Regions from separate parts of the Homo sapiens genome. Here region 1 is linked to region 2. Evidence: promoter capture Hi-C in 16 types of primary human blood cells and fetal thymus (Javierre and others, 2016). All regions are on one chromosome and are shown on one strand. Each heading gives the region's core, a stretch centred on a gene start or on the middle of the fragment in contact. The rest is flanking DNA. Distances are from core to core; before and after follow the strand shown.

Evidence for each region. Contacts are between HindIII fragments. The CHiCAGO score rates a contact against its expected background, and 5 or more counts as called.
Region 1: a contact is called between a fragment that was not itself captured here and the fragment with the promoter of IL2RB-AS1 in region 2, in 1 of 17 cell types (megakaryocytes). The highest score is 5.5, in megakaryocytes.

Annotation. Positions count from the first base shown.
Region 1 is chr22:36,535,484-36,542,049 of GRCh38, reverse strand. It overlaps the pseudogene LOC100500719. Among named protein-coding and RNA genes, the nearest start is that of EIF3D, 9.6 kb to the right of the region's middle. The HindIII fragment of the contact is 2,707 bases long and covers 827-3,533 here.
Region 2 is chr22:37,165,217-37,171,580 of GRCh38, reverse strand. It overlaps IL2RB-AS1 (IL2RB and C1QTNF6 antisense RNA 1), which reads right to left and starts at 4,822. Exons shown (of 2, transcript NR_199008.1): 1 at 4,617-4,822. It also overlaps a transcript of IL2RB not described here. RefSeq lists enhancers at 3,228-3,287, 4,602-4,651. The HindIII fragment of the contact is 5,870 bases long and covers 3,755-6,364 here.

The sequences.
Region 1 (6,566 bases), core at 931-3,430, 630 kb after region 2:
TTTTCTAGTTCTGAAATTTTGCTGAGACAACAAGGTTCTTGGGAGGCTGGGGTGGGCTGGTGGCTCCAAAGCTTCCTTTCCTGCTGGCACAGCCTCCAACAGGATGATAAAATGGCTGCCGTCCTACCTGGGACACCATGTTCCTTGCCCTCAGTCTTCCTCATCTGCAGAATGGGGGTAGTGATCTCTGCCTAACCGAGACAGAAAAGTTTGGTACAGGTAGCACAGCTCCACAATTTCTTATCTGAAATCCTCGCGGCTCAATGTGCTTTATCAATTTATGTATTTTATTTTATATTTTATTTATTTTGAGACACAGTTTCACTCTGTCGGCCAGGCTGGAGTGCAGTGGCCCGATTTTGGCTCACTGTAACCTCCACCTCCTGGGTTCAAGCGATTCTCATGCCTCAGCCTCCCCCAGTAGCTGGGATTACAGGGACCCACCACCACGCCTGGCTAATTTTTGTATTTTAGTAGAGATGAGGTTTCACCCAGGCTGGTCTCAAACTACTGACTTCTGGTGAGCTGCCCGCCTTGGGCTCCCAAAGTGCTGGGATTACAGGTCTGAAGCCACCACATCCGGCCTCAATGTGCTTTATAACTTGGAATTCTTTGGATTCCTGAAAGGTTTTCGAGTGGATCTACCGCATATCAGGTGACATGCCAGTGAGCTCTGGAGCAATATTCCATAAACCCTTTAATTTTTCTGCAGCAAAATGTATAAATATTCACGCTAAGTGGGACAAAATAAAGACTATAAATAACCTCACATCCAATTCATATCAGGTTTGCCATCAAATGCTTGCCCCAATCTCATGAAAAAGCTTTAGATTTTCAGAGCTTTGTGGGTTTTGGAATTGTGCATGGAGAGTGCCAGCTTTGGTTTCAGCCACACCTGGGTTTCCATTCCAAATGCACCCTGACCAGCTGGCTCACCTGGGGCAAGACATTCCTCCTCTCTGAGCCTCAGTGTTCTCGTCTATAAAATGGGGTGATGATTCCTATGGTGCTTCTTAAAAGATAAGCAAGGAAACGCAAGTTGCCACTCTGGAAGAGAGGTTGGCCACACTGACCGGTCCCAATGAGGTGAATCCACCACAGGATATCCGGGATCTTTCTGCACACAAGGCGGTGGCAGACTCCCTTTGACCAAACTTACAAGGCTGACGCATAGCAGAAGATCCATTTATTATTGGAGAGCACAGTAAATACCCCACCAGCAGAATGGAGCACTTCCATCAGCCTAACCAGCACGTGCTTCCCTACAGCACAAGTTCCATGAGGATCCACGGTGTCACAGCACTGCTTGGTGGCAGGGAGTCAGAATAAACAACAGCATTAAGAAGCATTTATCGGCCAGGCACGGTGGCTCACGCCTGTAATCCCAGCACTTTGGGAGGCCGAGGCGGGCGGATCATGAGGTCAGGAATTCGAGACCAGCCTGACCAACGTGGTGAAACCCCATCTCTACTAAAAATACAAAAATTAGCCAGGCATGGTGGCAGGCACCTGTAATCCCAGCTACTAGGGAGGCTGAGGCATAAGAATCACTTGAACCTGGGAGGCAGAGGTTGCAGTGAGCCAAGATTGCACCACTGCACTCCAGCCTGGGTGACACAGCCAGACTCCATCTCAAAAAAAAAAAAAAAAAAAAGTGTTTATCACAGAGCAGCTTGAAGCCACCTCTGTTTTGGGAGGACAGTCTTACCCGGGGAATGGGGATGATGCTTGAGCCAGCGCAACCAAGAACCTGTGCCCTGGACAATGCCAGCCCTGGCTCTGTGACCATCCCCTTCCTAAATGTCCCCTACTGAGGGACACTTCCATTCACTCTTTCTCCAAAGTTGCAAGGTAACTGACCAGGTTCCCCTTGGTAAACTAGGATCGTATTCCAGGCCTCCCCCTCTGAGCCAGACTCCTTCAGAAACTTTGCCTGGCATTGATGTACCCCACACTCTTCAGTCATGTTTGCAGATAACCAAACTGATGACTCTTAGAAAAGGCCAGTCTGCATCCATGGCAGAGTTCATACCCCTAAGATGGCCACGACAATACCTCCCACTCCACATACTTGTTCCATAACTTTGTGCCTTACCCAGCAAGAAATTCAGTCTCTGTCCTCCCTCGCCCTTGACTCTAGGCAGGCTTGTGACTCACTTGGAACCAACAAGTTACGGGGATGGGAGAGATGCTGTATAACTTCGGAGGCTAGATCACAGAAGGCAGCATGGCTTCCAGCTTGTTCGCCAGAATACTTGCTCTGAACTCCCCACATGGACTCACTACAGAATGACCCTGAGGCTAAATGGAGAGAGAGAAAAACAGAAGCTCCACCCACACCAAACTATAATGCATGAGAGACCCCAGGTCAGAACCACCCAGCCAAGCCCTCTCCCAATTCCTGACCCACAGAAACTAAGAGATATAATAAAAAGACTGTTGTTGTTTTAAACCACTAAATTTTGGTGTGATTGGTTACACAGCAACAGATAATCAGTAACAGAGGACCATTTTACTTCCCTTCTGCCTAGGGTGACCATACCTCCCAGTTTAAGTGAGACAATCCCAGGGCATAATTATTGATAGTAATCCCTTCGTCACCCCCAAAGTGTCCCAAATTTGAATGGTAAGTCATATGGTCACCCTACATTTGGCCAAGTTCTCAGAACACACTTTAGATTCTGGCAACAACTCTTCACTCACAGCCTAGAATAATCGAAATGCCTGAGGTACCTAGCACAGTGTGTTGAAGAAATCAATGCTGGTTCCTTCTCTTTCTCCTAATTCTGTTCTGTCTGAATGCTCAGCAGTATTTTACCAAGAGATGGCTTCGGGCGCAGTGGCTCATGCCTGTAATCCCAGCACTTTCGAAGGCCAAGTCAGGTGGATCACCTGAGGTCAGGAGTTCAAGACCAGCCTGACCAACATGGTGAAACCTCATCTCTACTAAAAATACAACAATTTGCCAGGCATGGTGGCGGGCACCTGTAATCCCAGCTACTCGGGAGGCTGAGGCAGGAGAATCATTTGAACCGGGAGATGGAGGTTGCAGTGAGCCAAGATCTTGCCACTGCACTCCAGCCTAGGCAACACAGCGAGACTCTGTCTCAAAAAAATAAAATTAAATAAAAAGGAGATGGCTTCAGGAGCAGGCTCAGTCCCCTCACAGTCCCTGGAACACTCTCCCCCAACAAAACCTGCATCCTCCTGAAAGCAGAGTACCTGCTACACAGACACAGCTCCCAGGCAAGTCCAGGGCTACCCCCTTCACAAGACGGCTCTCAGTAAGCCTGTCCCACGGGGAAATTCTGGAGCTGCCGCTGGTATTCAAGATGGGAAGGCTCTGAATTCCTTAGAGAGAGCAGGCAAGAGACAGAGGAGGGGCGAGACAACCCTGCAACCGTCTTTTTATTATCTCTCTTGGTTTCTGTGGGACAGGAATTTGGGGTGGGCTTGGCTGGATGGTTCTGCCTTGGGGCCTCTCGGGCCTCTCGGAAAGGCCTTCTTCACCACCCCTGTAAGGGATGGAAGCTTCTGAGTCCACAAAACTGTTCACAAATCCTGGCTCCACCATTTACTCACTGGGCCAAGTACTCAACGACTCTGAGCTTCTTTCTCCCCACCTGCACGAATGGGAGGGTCCATGGCAATTTCAAGGAACTTTTAGAAAAGAATCAAAGAAGTAATTTTTTTTGTTGTCTTTGTTTTTTTCAGAGAGGAAATTATTTATATAAAGCCCATAGCACAGTGCCTGGCATAAAGTAAGCACTCAATGAATGTTATTTTCTTTTTTAAGACACAGGAGCTTACTACTAGAAAATGTACCTGTCTTACCTGGAAGGGACAGAACAGTACAACAAGAAAGGCCAATGGGCCAGTTGCGGTGGCTCACACCTGTAATCCCAGCACTTTGGGAGGCCGAGGGGGGGTGGATAACATGAGTTTAGGAGTTCGAGAACAGCCTAGCCAACATGGCCAAACCCCGTCTCTACCAAAAATACAAAAATTAGCCAGGCGTGGTGGTGCAGGCCTGTAATTCCAGCTACTCCGGAGCCTGAGGCAGGAGAATTGCCTGAACCCCGGAGGCAGAGGTTGCAGTGAGCCAAGATCGAGCCACTGCACTCCAGCCTGGGTAAGAGAGGGAGACTCTGTCTCAAAAAACTAAAAAGGCCAATCAGAAAACAGAAATAACGGTGTATCTCACTTCTAGACACAGACATAGGGGGATGTATGTATATGGAGGGCCTGGCAGGCACCTGTAGTCCCCCTTTTTCAGTTCAGAAAACATTTCTGTCCCGCAGGCGGGGTGCTGTGCACGCCGCGATCCGCATTTGCAGGACCAGGGATGTTGTGCTGCTCTCCGATGAGGCAGTCACAGAGTCTGTCTGCTGCAGCCCTTTCTGAACCTCTGGCTGTCTGGACGCTCCACTGTGCTCCTTACCAAGATGAAGTGCATCTTGGTGGCCATTGAGGGCACAGAGGCCCTCTTCTACTGGACGGATGAGGAGTTTGAAGAGAGTCTCCAGCTGAAGTTCGGGCAGTCAGAGAATGAGGAAGAAGAGCTCCCTGCCCTACAGGACCAGCTCAGCCCCCTCCTAGCCCCGGTCATCATCTCCTCCATGACGATGCTGGAGAAGCTCTCGGACACCTACACCTGCTTCTCCATGGAAAACAGCAACTCCCTGTATGTCCTTCACCTGTTTGGAGAATGCCTGTTCATTGCCATCAATGGCGACCACACCAAGAGCGAGGGGGACCTGCAGCGGAAGCTGTACATGCTCGAGGCATTTCTCAAATGCACAAACATTGTTTCATGAGCCATTTTAGCCCAGATAGGTCATGGTTTCAGTGGCAAATGCTGCAGGTGGTAGATGCCTGTTACATGAACCACATTGGCCAGTGCAGACCTTGCCAGCATCCGAGATGGCTGCAACCCTGTGTAGGGCCCTGATGATAGACCAGACCTTTCTGTGTTCAGTGGCCTCTGTGTGAGAAGCTTAAGCACCACCCTGGCTCTCTCTAGCTGGGTTTATATGACATGTGTTTGTGTGACAGAGATTGAAGAGTGAGGTGATTTGCTCAGCTGCCTGCCTTCTGGCTCCGTGCCTATCCCACCCCACTCCACAGCTAGAGCTGGGCCAGAAACCCGACCCGCTTTCCCAGCTGTGTGGGCAGGTCACATGGGCTCACCTGGCTCTAACACTGAGCTGGGACTCTGGTCCTTTTGTTGGGTGTGGGAGAGACCAGCTTTCTCGTGGTCTCTCCCGCCCTCTCTGGCTCTGCCCTCAGGCTGCGGCCCCCAGACCTGGGGCAGCGTGTCCAGCTGTGGGAGCACTTTCAGAGCCTGCTGTGGACCTATAGCCGCCTGCGGGAGCAGGAACAGTGCTTCGCCATGGAGGTGATTACTGGGCGCAGGAGTCCGCAGGACTTGGAGCTGTCAGGTCAGAGGCGGCCTTCAGCTTTAAGACCATGTTTTAACCCTAATGAGTGAAGGCACAAGCAGCCCCTGAAACTCGTGTATTCAGACAGAGTTGTTCTTTCTGGCCATATGGAGGGTTGGGTACTCTGATGGGCTTTCCCATGGTAAAACAGCTCGATCCTGGATAATACAGACTTTTAATGTAATTTTTGGGTTCACTGTAAATTACAGAAATCTTTGAAGACAGTTCCTTCAACCCTCCCCTCCTCCTCCCACAAAATTATATTGAGGTGGAACAGGAGGGGAAAGCAGTGGAGAAGAACACAGCGCTAAAGGTAAGATTGCCCTGACTGCAAATGATACCAGCACTACAGGCAGTAAACAGCCTTAGGCCAGCAGCAGCATAGTAAAGCTGAGCCTGCAACTCTAGTTTAAGCCCAGCCCCAAAAAGTTAAAGTGGCTGCTGGTCCTTTTATAAGGCATAGTCAATAAAAAACTAAAAAATTAAAAATAAAAACTAAAGTGGCTGCTGGTCGGTAGCACTCCTTGGCTTCCTAAAGAGGTAAACCAAATTATCTTGCAAGCAGTGGTTTTCATACGCCAGTGTGTGTCAGAACCTTCTATAGGGCTTGTCAAATACAGGTTACTGGGCCTCACTTTCAGCATTTCTCATTTAGCAAGTCTGGGATGGGGGCTCTAGAACTTGCATTTTTTTTTTTTTTTTTTTGAGACGGAGTCTCGCTGTGTCGCCCAGGCTGGAGTGCAGTAGAGCGATCTCTGCTCACCGCGACCTTCCGGGTTCAAGTGATTCTCCTGCCTCAGCCTCTCGAGTAGCTGGGATTACAGGCACATGCCACTACGCCTGGCTAATTTTTGTGTTTTTAGTAGAGATGGGGTTTCACTATGTTGGTCCGGCTGGTCTCGAACTCCTGACCTCATGATCCACCCACCTCAGCCTCCCAAAGTGCTGGGATTACAGGCATGTGCCACCGTGCCCAGCCCTAGAACTTGCATTTCTAAAAAATTCCCAGGTGCTGTTTATTGTGCTCGTCCAGGAACCACACTTTGAAAACCACTGCTAAAGCAGGACAGGTTAAGATCGAACAAATGTGAACTCACAACTGAAGAAAATCAGATACAGAAGAAA
Region 2 (6,364 bases), core at 3,573-6,072:
TTTTCCCATCGCCTTCTGGTGAGGTCCATCTACCCTGACTGCCTTGTTTAAAATTGTGCTCCTGATTCTCTGTCTCCCATTTTTTCTTTTCTGATAGCGTTTTTCATCTTTTAACCTCCTATGAAACTTACTTAGTCCTTATGTTTATTGTCTGTTTCTCACCCCACTCCCCACTAGACTGTAAGCGTCACAAGGGCAGGCGTCTTTGTTTTGTTCACTGTTGTGTCCTAAGCCTCTAGAAAAAGGGTTTGGCACATAGGGGCTCCTCAATAAATATTATTTGAATGAAAGAGCGTGAGGCCAAGCATGACGACTCACAACTGTAATCCCAGCACTTTGAGAGGCCGAGGTGGGTGGATCACCTGCGGTCAGGAGTTTGAGACCAGCCTGGCCAGCATGGTGAAACCCTGTCTTTACTAAAAACACAAAAATTAGCCAGGCATGGTGGCCGCGCCTGTAGTCCCAGCTACTTGGGAGGCTGAGACAGGAGAATTGCTTGAACCCGGGAGGCAGAGGTTGCAGGGAGCTGAGATTGTGCCACTGCACTCCAGCCTGGGCAACAGAGCGAGCCTCTGTCCCCCTCCCCACCCAAAAAAAAGAGCGTGAGTCCTAGAATTTGGGAGGTAGTAAAATCCACCCTCATCCATAATATCGGAAGTTCCACAGGCTGGCAGGATCATCCCACCACGTGCCCAGCTTCCAACCACAGAAAGGCGCTCCCAGAATTTTGCAGGATTTCTTTGGATTTGCTTCATGTTTATCTTTGAGATTGCTTCATCTCTTTGGAGATCAGCAGTAAAGTCTTAAAGGCAGCAGGAATCTGTGTGTTTGCGGAGACAATGAGGAAAGGAACTGAGGGAAGTGTGTGTGGCCCGTGCAGTGAGGCTGGGAGGCCATGAGCCACGTCAAGCAGTGACTGCGTGGTGGAGAACCCCAAATGTGGCACCCTTGGGACTGAGAGGTGGCCAGAAGGGGCAAGTCGACTCCCATGATGCCTCCACAGAGAGGGATGGAGGCTTGGGTTCTAGACTGTCCACCCCCAAGAGGCCACGCCTGTCATTACCCCAGCCCCTGGGTGGCGCTGCTTCCCCTGTGGCAGACACGCATCTCTCCACGGCTGGGGGCAGCGGGGACAGTGCAGAGTCTGCCCCCGCTGCTGGCCTAGCTTGTCCATCCCTGTCTATGAGGAGCTGTTGCTCTTCTCAGCTGCTCTCCTGTTAGGTCTTGGGACCTGCACCTTCTGTGATGTCAGCTGCTAAAACACACCCCATCTCTTCTGCAAAACAGGTAGCTCATTTCACCCCCAACCTTGGCAAACACCAAACTTCCTGCAGCTGCTTTGGTTTTCTTCAGGGCCTTTCTGCTGTGTTCTGGCCTTCCTGAAAGAGTCTTATTATTCTGTCCATCCACATCCACTGTCTGTCCATCCGTCTGTCTGTTCATCCCTTCATCCATCCATCCATCCATCCATCCATCCATCCATCCATCCATTCTTCCTTCCTTCTCCCCCATCCTTCCTTCCTTCTCCCCCATCATTCCTTCTCTCCCTCCATCATTCCCTCCATGATCCCCCCATTCATCCTTCTTCTGTTCATCCATCAGTCCATTTTCCATTCACCCATTAACCACCCTTCTATCCACATCACAATGACTAAGCACCTCCTATGCTCCAGGCACATACCAGGCAGCATAAAGAAATGCAGAATGAATGGGATTCAGTTCCTGCCCTTGGGGAGCACCCACTTTAGTTGGGGAGAGAAGGAAGGCCTCTGGCAGGTACCTAACCCCATCAGAAAGCAAGGGTAAAGGCCTGGGAGGCTTCACGGAGGATGTGAACCCGGGGCCTGAAGGATGATGAGTCCGCGGGATAAGAAGGCAAAGGAAGGATGCCACATGCAGGGCAGGGAGGGGGCAAACCCTGGGAGGAGGGGGAGGCATGCAAGCGATTCTGCGTTCTGTGTGGCCAGAGGATTGGATGCAAAGGGGGATCTTCAAGAGGGGGCCCAGTTAGGGACAGCCTTGAAGCCAGACTCAGGATGCTTGGATAGGGTCTTGAGGGCAGTGGGGAGCCCCTGAAGAGTTGTGTGCAAGGATGCTCTGGATGCAGAGTGAAGGATGACATGGCAGCGTCCCGCTAACAAATATGAACCCCTCTGTAAACAGAACCCCTGTGTAAGCAAGAACCCTCTGTAAACAGAATCCCTCTGTAAACAGAACCCCTGTGTAAGCAAGAACCCCTCTGTAAACAAGAACCCCTCTGTAAACGTGTAAACAAGAACCCCTCTGTAAACAGAATCCATCTGTAAGCAAGAACCCCTCTGTAAACAGAACCCCTCTGTAAGCAAGAACCCCTCTGAAAACAGGAACCCCTCTGTAAACAGAACCCCTCTGTAAGTAAGAACCCCTCTCTGTAAGCAAGAACCCCTCTGTAAACAGAATCCATCTGTAAGCAAGAACCCCTCTGAAAACAAGAATCCTTCTGTAAACAGAACCCCTCTGTAAGCAAGAACCCCTCTGAAAACAAGAACCCTTCTGTAAACAGAACTCCTCTGTAAACAAGAACCCCTCTGTAAACAGCATCCCTCTGTAAACAAGGACCCCTCTGTAAGCGAGAACCCCTCTGTAAGCAATAACCCCTCTGTAAACAGCATCCCTCTGTAAACAGAACCCCTCTGTAAGCAAGAACCCCTCTGTAAGCAGAACCCCTATATAAGCAGTGCCCCTCTGGCACTGGGCGTGGAGGGAAGGAGATGGAGCTGGGGAAATATTAGGCTCTGGTGATAATTGTTGTTCCCCAACTGCCTTCAGCCACCTAGTCTGTGCCTTGGCTCTTGCAGCTCCCTCTGTCTTGGGCCCTTTCTCTCGACCCATTCCGGCCTATGGAACACTCATCCCCATCCTCCCAGAGAAGAGGAAGAACCCAGCCTTCCTCAGGTGCCTCCTGCATGCCAGGAACTGTGGGTGATGGCTTCTCTGTGTGCACAATCTCATGCCATCCCCATGAACCTAAGAGGTGGGGAGTAGTCGCATGTTTCAGATGCAGAAACAGGCTCAGAGAGGTAAAGGAACTTATCCAAGATCACACAGCTAGGAAGTGGCCAAGGTGGGATGGGGACCCAGCCCTCACTGCCTTTGCACAATGACCCACTGCCCACAGCACCGATGCCACATCCTCTGGAGCCTCCCCTATGGCTCCAGCCAAGCCACGTTCTATTTTTGGGTTTGTGTTTTTGTGTTTTGTCATTTGCAGGCGTTTCAAACTGGGCACGCTCTATGCCTCTCATACTCATTATGACCACATTTTCTAAAGACAAAACTGCACAGACAGCCTGAAAAAGTATTTTTTCTGTCTTGTTACTTTCTTTAATAACGTCTTAGCCAGTTTAGAATCAAATCACATGTATTTACTCTTCTCACGTGATACCAGGACTGTTCTGAAAGTTCAGGCCAAGGGTCACCACATTGACACGATTTCCTTAGTTATAATCATTTGCATACTTGTCCTACCTCCATACCAAGAGAAGGTACTCTGAGTTAGAGTTCAAATCCCACACATCCTTGTCATTCCCACAGTGCCCAGCATGCTGCTGCCAGCAGGTGCTCAGTAAATCCTTACTGAACTCATGCAAAGGGGACAGACGCCACCTCAGCCCAACACCAAGATTGTCCTCCCTCCCTCCCGCACCCCTTCCCTTCCTCCCTTGCTTCCCATCTTTCAATAAATGCAGTTTGAATGCATTTGTCACACAAAGCTTTAGGCTCAGAGAAGCTGTGGGACTCCATGCACTTCACCTGTGGCCTTGAGGCACCGCAGTCCAGCCAGGAAGACAGACACCAGGCAAATCCTCCCACCTATGCCCAGTCAATTAGGAATATGAGCACCTGATCCAGTGATGGGCAGGGCAGCATCCACTTTAGATGCACGGGGTGCTGGGAAAGCTGCCCTGAGAAAGTGACCGCAGGCTGAGGCCTGGGGCAGAGAGAACGTGGGCAGGGGCTCGAGGCAGGGAAGAGCTTGGAGACTTCCAGGAACTGCCAGACAGCCAGGGGCAGTGGGGCAAGGGAGAGAAGAAGCCAGAGAGGCCGCAGGCCTGGGCTTTCCATGGCGAGGAGGCCTGGATACTGCATAAGTGCAGCAGGAAATGTTGGGTGGGGTCGGATTTTCACTTTACAAGGGCAGTCGCTGGGGCAGAGGGCATGGGACTCAGGGAGGGACTCAGGAGGCAGAGAGATGGTGGGACGAGACTGAGGGTGCCGGCTGGGGCTGGGGGTAGAGGACTGTGAGCGCTTGGCACTTGGAGGCAGTCAGAGCTGGTCTGGGCAGGGGTGCTGTCACCCAGGGCCGAGGAAAGGGATACAGGAGGGGCAGAGGGTGGGTCGGAGGCTGTCCTGGGAACCCTAAACGTGGGGGCCAGGAGAAGGAGGTGCTCCCGTTTCTGATCTGTACCAATTAAGGGGAAGGTGAGAAATTGCTTGGGTGGAGTGTCCTTCTCTGAGTCTGGGGGTTAGGTGGGATGAGGGGACCTCGGAGGCTGGAGGCCAGAGTTCACACTCCTGCCCTGCTGTGTGACCTAAGGCTGAGAGCTGCCTCTCTCTGGGCCCAGATGCATCATTACCTATTCAGCAAGCAGCTGGGCCTGAGAGCCTCCGAGATCCCTTGCAGGTCTGCTGGTCTCGGCTGCCTTTCCTTGGTCTGCCCTCATGCTGTCTTCCCAGAAGCCAGGGGCCCAGTTTGCTTCCCCTGCTTGTCCTGTGGGCACTTGCGACTCCCGGGGAGGCAGCAGACACGGTCCAGCGTGGTCACGCTCCTGGCCGCGACTTCACCTCCCTCCTGCAGCACAAGTCTCGAGGAGGCTGGGGAGGTGCGCGCACTGCCCTCTGGTGGCAACTTCTGGGCCCACCTGTCATTGTGCCCTGCTGTTTTCTAACTCAATTATTCTTGAAGGGATGATTGAGCGCCTTTTGCATGCAAAGTCCCGAGGTAGGCATGAAGTAGTTGGGCAGTCCAGATGGGGGAGAAGGTGTCGTGGATGTGGAGCCCAGGGTGTCACTCTACGCGCTCCCGATCCCTCCCAAGGCCTAGGCGTCCTCCCTCCACCGCGGGAACGGAGCAGGGGTGGCACAGAACTCTGGTGGCTGCAATGAGGGTTCAACGGTTGAATGCGTGGAGTGCATCTTAGCTTCACTTCTGGCCCAGGAAGCGCAGGCTCCGTGTACAACACACGCAGCGGTGCAGTGCCTTCAAAGGGGGCGTGTGGCTGTGTGTGTGGATGTGCCAGTTTTGGGCTTCCTCTCGGCAGGAGGTGGGGGGGCGGGGAGGCTCTGGCGCTGAGTGCCCCCTTTCCATTGCGGTCCTTTGGTGCAGTTGAGGGTCCCCCCAGTAGCAGGGGCATTTCCAAGGAGCCAGGACTTCAAGGGCCTAAGGCTGGAGGGGCCCTGTCCAGTGCAACAGAGAGACCTTGAGCATGGGCGGTGAGGTCACCTCTCCTGGCCCAGCTATCAGCTGAGCTGGATGTGCATGGCTCAGGTTTGCACAAAGGAGGCCCACCTGTTCACAGGAGTTCTGGAAAGAACACACCTGTGGCAAAGACACACACACGTGCACACCAGACAGGCCATGATCTCGCTCCCCTGGCGAGGAATGACTTCCTTGCCGTAGGGAGAATTCAGGGGAGTCTGGCCCTCTTGAGGAGATGCTGTAGAGGGGAGTTGTGGACGGTTGGATTCAGGATGTTTTCAGCTCCAAGTGTCTGCTTTAGGCCGGTCTGCACCTGTGTCCTCCCCGCCTCTGTCCTTCTGGCACTTGCCCTGGGTAGGCCTGGCTCAAAGCCCTCTTCTCCCCTCCTCCCCCAACCCCACAAACAATAATAAAATTAAATTAAATTAAATTAAATTAAATTTTTAAAAAAAGCCCTCTTCTCCATGAAGCCTGCCCTGAAGAGGCAGCTGCCCAGGAGCATCTGCACATCTCATACAAACTTTAGCTGTGATTATATTGCATTCGTTCCCATGCCTATTTCCTGTCCCTGCAGCTAAACTCTGGGCTCCTTGAGGGCTGGGTGGAGTCTTGGGCATCTTTTGTGGCTGCTATAACTCCCAGCCCTGAGCCAGGATAATACAGACGCTTGACAAACGCTCCATGCTGACTGGCAGGTGTTCCTACCTTCCATGCCTGGGAAAATCATGATTCAGACTCTCCCTGGAGAGGCCACGGTCAGAGAAACATTAGGAAGGACAGAGTGGGTTCTGGAAGGCCAGAGGCACACGGCCAGAGCAGGCACAGATGCGGCCAGCCATAGCTCAAATTCTCATGGCTCTCTTCTTCCAAAGGTGGCGGCAGCCTGGTAGTTAGGAGCATGTGCTT